Regions from separate parts of the Homo sapiens genome. Here regions 1 and 3 are each linked to region 2. The links are contacts of gene promoters, found by promoter capture Hi-C in human tissues and cell types (Jung and others, 2019). All regions are on one chromosome and are shown on one strand. Each heading gives the region's core, a stretch centred on a gene start or on the middle of the fragment in contact. The rest is flanking DNA. Distances are from core to core; before and after follow the strand shown. Region 1 overlaps COPB1 (coat protein complex I subunit beta 1). Region 2 holds the start of PSMA1 (proteasome 20S subunit alpha 1). Region 3 overlaps COPB1 (coat protein complex I subunit beta 1).

The links. The method cuts DNA at HindIII sites, captures the fragments that hold promoters and counts their contacts. A contact is called where the count stands out against the background at its distance.
Region 1: a fragment that was not itself captured here is called in contact with the fragment with the promoter of PSMA1 in region 2 in 1 of the 25 tissues and cell types used here (H1 embryonic stem cells).
Region 3: a contact is called between a fragment that was not itself captured here and the fragment with the promoter of PSMA1 in region 2, in 2 of the 25 tissues and cell types used here (H1 embryonic stem cells and mesendoderm cells).

Annotation. Positions count from the first base shown.
Region 1 is chr11:14,455,785-14,459,201 of GRCh38, forward strand. COPB1 (coat protein complex I subunit beta 1) reads right to left here. Exons shown (of 22, transcript NM_001144061.2): 21 at 2,748-2,903; 22 at 1,728-2,099. The coding sequence ends at 2,040. Among named protein-coding and RNA genes, the nearest start is that of COPB1, 42 kb to the right of the region's middle. The HindIII fragment of the contact is 5,216 bases long and covers 1-3,417 here.
Region 2 is chr11:14,518,486-14,521,861 of GRCh38, forward strand. It overlaps PSMA1 (proteasome 20S subunit alpha 1), which reads right to left and starts at 1,901. Exons shown (of 10, transcript NM_002786.4): 1 at 1,812-1,901; 2 at 512-556. The coding sequence starts at 1,814. RefSeq lists enhancers at 1,694-2,308, 1,843-2,032. The HindIII fragment of the contact is 15,381 bases long and covers 1-3,376 here.
Region 3 is chr11:14,474,355-14,477,686 of GRCh38, forward strand. COPB1 (coat protein complex I subunit beta 1) reads right to left here. Exons shown (of 22, transcript NM_001144061.2): 12 at 2,565-2,661; 13 at 1,431-1,591; 14 at 141-261. Among named protein-coding and RNA genes, the nearest start is that of COPB1, 24 kb to the right of the region's middle. The HindIII fragment of the contact is 6,579 bases long and covers 1-3,332 here.

The DNA of each region.
Region 1 (3,417 bases), core at 853-3,352, 62 kb before region 2:
CATGGAAAAAGGATTCCCTGGTAAAGTAAGGTTAGGATATACTGGGTTAAACCAAACTAATCTGCTTTCCTCTCAGAATCTCTGGTATGCTAATGTACATTGTGAATCTCCAGTGCAGGACAGTTTGAAGCTTTTCCCCAACTTACTTGACTATGGAATTACTTTTTCACTCAGAATATCTAATGACATCTAAGGAAGCTAATGTTCAGTAGAACAGAGTTTGGGAAATGATGATCTAATCCAAAGTTGCACCAGCTCCTTCGCTCTCATTGCAAATCTCTACCCTTGAATCGACATCCCTTCTCTGCACTTCCAGTATATCTTTCCCATTTGATAAGCCCTGGCTTTGTTCTAAGATCTCAGTGTTCTGGAATCTCAAATGCCCTGTAATCTAGGCTTTTTTTTTCTTTTTTTTTTTTTAAAAGCAAGTGGCTTCACAGTTTATGACATCATACAAGGTATCAATCTCCTTATACTCCAAACAAATCATTTCATTCTTAATGAAATAGGAGATGCTTTCAGTCTTTCACAGACCTTATCTAAGGACTCACAGGGAATGCAGCCTGAACCCTAGCTGGTAGACAAATAATAGCCTTAAGTTTAGACTTAGCTAAAAAATCAGACTACCTCAATCACCCCCAATGAAAGTAAAGGCCAAAAGGAAAGCACAATCAGACGCTGGGAAACTTAGCTTGGAAATGCATTTGGAATTATACTGCAGTGTGATGGTACCCAGTCCTAGTGTGAAGTGAGGAAAAGGAGACGAGTGAGTAAGGCACAGAGGCAACAGAGAAAAAGGCAGCTTTTTGAATCCTCTCTAGTTGAATCCTCCCAGTACCAGCTTCAGTAATTGGTTAGAACCAGTTTTATTCCTAACAAACATAGAACACCCTAAACTAAATGTGAGTAAGGCACGGAGGCAACAGAGAAAAAGGCAGCTTTTTGAATCCTCTCTAGTTGAATCCTCCCAGTACCAGCTTCAGTAATTGGTTAGAACCAGTTTTATTCCTAACAAACATAGAACACCCCAAACTAAATGTGAATGATTAAAAAATCTATTTTGGATTATCTACTCTTCATTATGATTCAGGATAATTAAGAACAGTATATCTATTTCAGTTCGGGTACATAATACTTCTTTAAACTGCAGAGCGATCTGTTTTCTCAAGTTATTTTGGGCCGGGTGCGGTGGCTCACGCCTGTAATCCCAACACTCCGGGAGGCTGAGGCGGGCGGATCACGAGGTCAGGAGATCGAGACCATCCTGGCCAACATGGTGAAAGCCCGTCTCTACTAAAAATACAAAAAATTAGCCAGGCGTGGTGGCGGGCACCTGTAGTCCCAGCTACTTGGGAGGCTGAGGCAGGAGAATGGTGTAAACCCGGGAGGTGGAGCTTGCAGTGAGCCAAGATCACGCCACTGCACTCCAGCCTGGGTGACAGAGCCAGACTCCATCTCAAAAAAAAAAAAAAAAGTTATTTTGATACTTTCTCCCTGGAGCTAAATTCAAGAGCAAATCCCTTCAAAACATGATAATGCATTTTTAGAGATAGCAATGTTGGAATATTAAATAAGTAAAAAACAACCAAGTGAATCAAGGCCTACCTTATTTTATATCATTGAATTTGTAAATTCTCTTAATAAAGCTGCATATATTCACAACTCAGTAATTTAAATTTATAATAGAAATTTATAACCCAACTAAAAGAAATCCATTGCCATATAACTAAAATTATGTAATCATTTATTTATAAAATAACAAAAATTTATGAATAGATCTGTTTATTGTACTGTGAAAAGGGTCTTGGTACATGAAACATTATATACTTTGAGGACAGCATTCAGAACTGTTAAGACAAAAGACAAACTATAATTTTAAACTCAATCTTGATTTAAGGGAAAGGCTATAAATTATTGGCTGAAAAGTATTCAGCATGAACTCAGATTCTATATAAGCATGAAAGAGTACAAAAGATGTTGGAGTCCAGTAAGCCCATACCTAAATTAACTGTAAAGCTTCAAGGACTTTTTGTTTATTTTTATATACTAGTTTTCTTCTGTGACAAGTTGATTTTATCTCCAAGACTTAAGGCCATTCCCTGTAAAGAAAAATTAAGATATTTATAATTATTTAAACTATGTACAATCAGTAGGTTATTCCATATTATTAAGCCCCAATTCAATTCAATGACACCATTATCAACAATAAAATCAAGGACATACCAAACAGACTTACCAAACTTTACTGGTAATTACCTTTCAGTGCTAGATTTTTCAAGCCGTCACCAGATTTTTTTTTTTTTTTTTTTTTTTGAGACGAAGTCTCATTCTGTCACCCAGGTTGGAGTGAAATGGCACAATCTCAGCTCACTGCAACCTCCACCTCCCGGGTTCAAGCAATTCTCCTGCCTCAGCCTCCCGAGTAGCTGGGATTACCGGGTGTGCGCTACAACACCCAGCTAATTAGTCACTAGATTTACACCTTGGCTTTCAAAAAATTCTAGAGAACCCATTTCACAAACACCCCATAGGAATCAATCTGGTTTTAGGCAAATATCCCAGAATGAGGGGCCCAAAAGGTGAGAAATTTTAATGAGAAAAGTTATACTTCTATTCAGAGTATATTATTATTGTATGTGTATATGCATCTAATGCTAAAAAGATACTACATATAGAAATAATAAAGTCATAAATTCCTCCCCCCTTTGTCAGTCCAGAGATACTCTCAAAAAAAAAGGAACTGTTACCTGGCTCTTTGCACGAATTCTTATATGGCCGGTAACAGCAGCATCTGGTCCCTGGTGAATTGGCTTCTCAATGCTGACATTTGCAAGTGCATCTTCACCAAATATGGAACGAGCATAAAGGTTGGCTGCCATAAAGCCACAGTAACCAGAAAGGGCCTGGAAAAAATTTGTGATAAATTCATTACTTTACCAGATACCTACATAGAGGCAAAAACCAAACAGCATAGGTGACTTTTTTTTTTTTTTTTTTGAGACAGAGTCTCACTCTGTTGTCCAGCTTGGAGCTGGAGTGCAGTGGCGTGATCTCGGCTCACTGCAACCTTCCTCCCAGGTTCAGGCGATTCTCCTGCCTCAGCCTCCCAAGTAGCTGGGATTACAGGCATTCGCCACCACACCTGGCTAATTTTTGTAATTTTAGTAGAGACAGGGTTTCACCATGTTGGCCAGGCTGGTCTTGAACTCCTGACCTCAAGTGATCCACCCGCCTCGGCCTCCCAAAATGCTGGGACTGCAGGTGTGAGCCACCACGCCCAGCCCCATTGGTTATTTATCACTTAAAACAGTACTTACATACAGGGTGGTGGTTACATAATCTTATGAGTTTGTCAAAACTCAACTATACATGTAAAAAGTGTGAATTTTACTGTGTATTATACCTCAATAAATCTGA
Region 2 (3,376 bases), core at 651-3,150:
ATCGCAGAATGAACACATCCGTTGTCTCACATAGTTACCCATTTTCCTCTGCTGTGGCAAGGGCTATAAACTACTCATTTAACAAAAATCTTGAATACAAAACACTACCTGCATTATTAACTGTAGTCTTCATGTTGTACATTAGATCTTTCCACTTGCTCAACCTACATATTTGCTACTTTGTATCTCCTCTTTTTTCCTCCCCACTGCCACCCCCTACCCTGGTAACCACTGTTTTACTCTCTCTATATATATATTTGCCCTTTTAAACAAAAGATTCCACATATAAGTGAGAGCATGAAACATTTTTCTTTCTGTTTCTGGCTTATTTCACTTAACATAATGTCCTCTAGGTCCATCAGGAAACCTATTTTAATTATAAATGCAACTTCCAAGAACGTCTAAAATAATTATATTCCATTTTCCCCAAGCCTACGCTCTCACAAGTTTCTAAATATATTGCAGCCACAAAAAGCCACTTCACAGAAAAGGTTTAAAAACATTATTTTACCTGGGGGCTCCAAACAGTGACATCATTGTCATACTGATTTCGAAACTAAAAGTAAAAGAAAAAAATACCTGTTAATAGAAGAACATTTCAAATCCCAACTCTTAACATTCATTAAGAAATATGCTTGTATTTCCATTCAATGTTAAGGCACTCTGTTCATGCAGTCTTACTGGAAGATTACTACTGTACTCAGATGTAAGCCAATTCTACATTTACCATAAACTCGTGGGAGAGGGAGAAGCAGATCTAAATGGGTCCTATTTTTCCAAACTCTTATTCTAACACCCTCCATATCAACCCCTTTAGGCTCAATTACTAAAGTTCACAATCAACTTTCTTGCCTATTTTTGCTTATGCTGCTCCCTTTTATTGGGCCCTAATAAATGGTTAAAAGTCTTCCTTTTCTTTAAGGTAGCTTAAATGTCGATTTCTTGAAGTCTTCTCCTTTTCTTCCCAAATCCCCCTAACATATACTCCCACAGCTCTTTATCTAAACGTCCCTTTCTGTTTTTATGATTAGGGACATGTATGACTTATTTTTTAATGTTCACTGTAGTTATGCCTGTACAAGTGCTGTCTGTATATTCACATTGAATGAACAAAAATGTCCTCACAAAGTTAGAGGTGGACACAAATAGCTGCAGCGATAGAACCATTACGGCTATTACGACTATTATAATAATAGTCATGGGAGTGAGATTGAGTGCTAGAATGGCAGACAGAACTGGAAACCCAGAACCCTATATTGTAACCCTGATTCCATCACTTCCCCTCTCAGCCTCGGCTTACTCATCCGCAACTAGGTGACTGGACAAAATGATTGAAAAGGGCCTCTTCTAATCGAAGTCTAGGCGAGAGATAAATAGACGGACCCACCAGGAAAACGGACGCTGTCCAGGAACACAAACCTGGGGGTCAAGTCCGCACTGGTGGTACAGGTAGGCCTCCAAGTCAAGTCTCTGTCTTCTCCTCTCCCATACACAGCACTAGGAGCTATTCTGGACCGCTCAGAATCTACTCCACTGAAGGAACCTGAGGGGCGAACTCATCTAGCTGACCGAGGAGGAAGTGTCGGAGGCTCCCCGGGAAGCGAAAGCGGTGGAAAGGCCGCACTGGCTACCGATAACCCCTAGCCCGGCCAGGCCGGAGATGCTGAATCACTGCCGGAGCCCGGCCGTCTGCCGAGGCTCTCATACCTCGTGGCACCGGGCGACGCTAAGGATGACAGGAGAGGTGGCTCGTCATCCCCCAGTCACCAGAGCTCTGCCCTAAACCTTCCAGAGATCGGGATTCAACGTACCATGGTGGCGGCGCGGGCCTGGTTGCGGCCTCCAGCAAAACTGAGAATCAAGGAGGTGCTGCCGAAAGTATCGCTCAGCGATCTACAGAGAAGTCTGCGGGAGTTTGACGGCGGCGGCGCAGGGTAGCGCAGTCTATTCCAGAGATATCGATAGGCTTGCAACACTTCCCCCTCCTTAAAACTTTCCGACCGCTCGGCGGCGGGCGGAGCCTCGGAAGATCTAGGAACTGAGACTGGCGGGAAAACCTGGCTGGGAGTGCCGGCGGCTGAGAGCTGCGGGGCAGCCCCTGTCACGTAGCCCTTCTAGGTTCCTGTGTATGGCGGATTCCCTCCAGTTTCTCCCGCTGGCGGGCTGCATCTAAAGTCGTCCGAGTCAACAGCCGTGACTCTGGGTGATACTAGCTCTCATTAACCGTCCACAGATTTGGGGTGTTATGTGACTGAAAGGAACGAGGCTGCAGGAAAGCCACAAGATAACGATCCGTTTCTGTGTGTCAGCTGTATTCTTCCTCGAGTATCTTGTTTGTGTACATGCTTTTATTTGCATTAAGGTTGGTGCAAAAGTAACTGCGGTTTTTGCCATTTGGCAAAATACTTTGGAATGCTCTTCCTTATTCCCTGGAGATGTTATCTTTCAAGGGTCTGTTGTCGTTAACCCCTCATTGTTATTATGATTGATTTCTTCCACCAGACTTTGAACTCCATGAGGGCGCTAATGTCTTTCTATGCCCCCAAAACCAAGCATGGTACCTGACAGATTAGGCCACTGAGAAAAAATGGACACTTTCTTTCGATTTATCTATTTCGTCTTTTGAGAGCATCTTTCCATAACGAAATAGTCTGACATCCACCGGCTATTTATATTCTTTGTAAAAAAGAGACTGGGTGTGGTGGCTCACGCCTGTAATCCCAGCGCTATTGGAGGCCGAGGGCGGAGGATCGCTTGAACCCAGGAGTTTGAGATCACTATATTATTTTAATACAGTGGGACCTCGTCGCTACAATAATAATAAGAATAAGAATAAGAATAAGAATAATAAAAAAAAAAGGCTGGGCATGTTGGCATGGGCCTGTGGTCCCAGCCACTCGGGAAGCTGATGTGGGAGGATCTCTTGAGCCAGGGAGATCGAGGTTGCAGTGAGCCATGGTCGCGCCGTTGCACTCCAGCCCGCCTGGGCAATAGAGATTCTGTTTCAAAAAAAAAAAAAGCCGGGCGCGGTGGCTCACGCTTGTAATCCCAACACTTTGGAAGGCAGAGGCGGGTGGATCACGAGGTCAGGAGATCGGACCATCCTGGCCAACATGGTAAAACCCCGTCTCTACTAAAAATACAAAAATTAGCCGGGCGTGGTGGCGTGCCTCAGGAGGCTGAGGCAGGAGAATCGCTTGAACCCGGGAGGCGGAGGTTGCAGTGAGCTGAGATCGTGCCACTGCACTCCAGCCTGGGCGACAGAGTGCGACTCCATCTCAAAAAAAAAAAAACAAAAAACAAAGTACTAAATTGTTCTCCAGAAATGTTTTACCAACATATACTCTCAACAGTAGTATATGAGGTTACCTTCTCT
Region 3 (3,332 bases), core at 372-2,871, 44 kb before region 2:
CTGTGTCCACTTCTGCTATTAAATCATAAACTCTTTCATGACAGAAACTTAGCATTAATTTTTGAGTCCCTCACTGTTCAATGCATATAGTAGGCACTCAATGTTTAATTGTTGGTTAAATGTAAAATAAATGAACTTACATTTTGCTTTTTCTTCTCCTGAACCAAAGCTACATAGCGCAATGCAATCTTGGTCAGAGTTGTGGCAAGGGAGGCAGCAACAAAGAAATCTCCATCCAGAAGGAATCCTCTCAAGGGAGGTCTGCAAAGCAACCAAGGAAAATCAAACCCACCAACTTGCTAAGCAGCATGCAGCTTCTGTATAAATGAATGATATAGGCCTATTAAACACTCTTATTACCATCCTTCAGTGATAAGGATACCTTAGCTAACTAACTCCTTAGCTCCCAGAAGAAAGAAGGAAAAAGAAAAATAATACATGACTTTAAAACTTATCTTTGGCCAGGTGCAGTGGCTCACACCTGTAATCCCAGCACTTTGGGAGGCCAAGGCGGGCGGATTACCTGAGGTCAGGAGTTCGAGGACAGCCTGGCCAACATGGTGAAACCCCGTCTCTACTAAAAATACAAAAATTAGCTGGGCATGGTGGCACAAACCTGTAATCCCAGCTACTCAGGAGATTGAGGCAGGAGAACTGCTTGAGCCCAGGAGACAGGTTGCAGTGAGCCATGATCGCGCCACTGCACTCTAGCGTGGCCGACAGAGCAAGACTCTGTGTCAAAAAAAAAAAAAAAAAAAAAAAAAAGAAAACTTATCTTTGAATGACACAAAAGCCATCAGAATATGGAAAGATACAATATTTAATTAGGGGCATACGTAATTGCAGCTAATGAAGTACCTCCGAATTCCAGCTTACCTGTTTATTTACTGGGTAAGCCTCAAATTCTTCTTCCATAAAATGGAGATAATATATTCTATCTCAAAGGCTTATTGTCAAGACTATATGAGACAAACTACTTAGCACAATGCCTAGCACTTAGTGGGTATTCAGTAAAATTTTAGGCAAAGATTTCACCATCTTCACCATTAAAATTTACTTAATAGAAAAATGCACAATTTTATTCCATCATTTAGAAATTGAAAAATCTTCAAAATGTTTTCAGATGCTAATAAACAACAAAACTCAAATATCTTCAGTTACCCCCACTTAGCATTTTCTGAGTAAAAATAATTTGAGTTTAAACAGAACAGTTATTTCCATAAAAACACTGGAAGGGACAGAGAATTAAAACCATCAATACAATTCCTAGGGGGAAGAACTTAAACATCCTCCGCTTCTCAAGTACCTTAAATGGCAAAGATTTTCATTTTGGTTGCAAAAGCAAGAGGAAAGAAATCATTTGACTGTCTTACATACAAGAGTAATAATAAAAGTAGTACAGCTGGCAGGGTATATGTGCCATAAATTACCTGTCTTCCTCTTTCTTGGTGGGTCTAGAACTGCTAAGGGCACTCTGAGTTGCATAGGTACCCATTTCAGTAACCAATTTCTGAACTGGCCCTACAGTTATTTCTTCTTCAGGTTTTAATTCACCAGCTTCTTTCTTTATTTCTGACTCTACAATTGGGATCTAAAAGTCAATTGGAAACATCATTTTAGTAATAGTATCAACAGCAAGCAAAATTATCTTTAAATATTTGATTGTTTCTCTAAAAAAGGCATTACCCTAATGGGATTTTTGGAACTGGGAACTCTGCTTTCAATTTATTTCCTTCCCAGGATAATGTAGTAGGTAGAATAGGGGCTTCAGAGATGGATATTCCAGGGTTTGAATTCTCACTCTGCCACTTACTACTTTGGACCTCAGTTTCTTAATCTGCTAAGTGGAAATCTTAATTCTTTCTACACATTTTACCTAATAGAAAAATGCATTGGACAGTGTCTAACACAAAGCAGATGGTCATTAAGTCGTATTCCTCTTCTTCATTCCTTTCCTTGAAATTTTAACCAAAACAGTACTCATCCTTCTAAAATGAAATAAATCCGACTTATTTGTACATAATAACCTCATCAACTAACTTTTAAATTAACTGAATGGCTATTATGTATTTATTACTCAATACCAGTCCATTACCTAATATAAGAGCACTAAGAGTATTTAATCATTACCTATTTTAATTTATTTTATAGGTGAAAAACACTGATGTCAAGTTAGGTTGAGGAACTTATATTCAAGGTCCTCCAGCTAACTGTCGACACAACAATGACTAGAACTAATTGTCAGGTCTCCTGATAATTAGTCCACTGTTCTTTCTATTCTACCATAAGGTTGTTAGGATGAAGAATACTGTCAGTTTTACTGCATAAATATTCTGAAGTCAGACTTACTCTAAGGCATTCTTCCTTCAGAATACAGGCTAAAGCAGAATTTTACAAGCTACTGCTTCTTTTTTTTTTTTTTTTTTTTAATAAACACAGAACATTTTGTTCAAACAAAATCTAACTCAGAAGTGTAAATAATGTAAGCAAATCACTATAAAAAGTCAGATTTTCCTAAAGGAAAAATTACCATATAAACTAACATTTACTAAAGTAAAACATACCTCTCCAAGGGACCTGCGGATCTCAGTCATCACACTCTGAATGTCTTCCTTGGTACTACAGTATTCTCCCAGGATCCATAATGCTCCTCGGTAAATCCTAGCACAATACAAGATCTGAAACATGAACTTGGCAGACAAATCTTGAAGCAGAGATCTTTCTTTGTTAATTTAAGCTCAAATAAAAACAAGGGCCAGGCACTCACGCCTGTAATCCCAGCACTTTGGGAGGCCGAGGCGGGCGGATCACGAGGTCAGGAGATCGAGACCATCCTGGCTAACATGGTGAAATCACGTCTCTACTAAAAATACAAAAAAATTAGCCGGGCATGGTGGCGGGCGCCTGTAGTCCCAGCTACCCGGGAGGCTGAGGCAGGAGAATGGCGGGAACCCATTCTCGGGAAGCGGAGCTTGCAGTGAGCCAAGATCGCGCCACTGCACTCCAGGCTGGGTGACAGAGCGAGACTCCGTCTCAAAAAAAAAAAAAAAACAAGGGCCAGGCACGGTGGCTCACGCCTGTAATCCTAGCACATTCGGAGGCTGAGGCCAGCGGATCACTTGAGCCCAGGAGCTCAAAACCAGCCTGGGCAACATGGTGAAACCCCATCTCTACTAAAAATACAAAAATCAGCCAGGCATGGTGATGCACATCTGTAATCCCAGCTATTGAGGAAACTGAGGCATAAGAGCTCCTTGAGGCCGGGCACAGTGGCTCACGCCTGTAATCCCAGCACTTTGAGAGGCTGAGGCGGGCGGATCACCTGAGGTTGG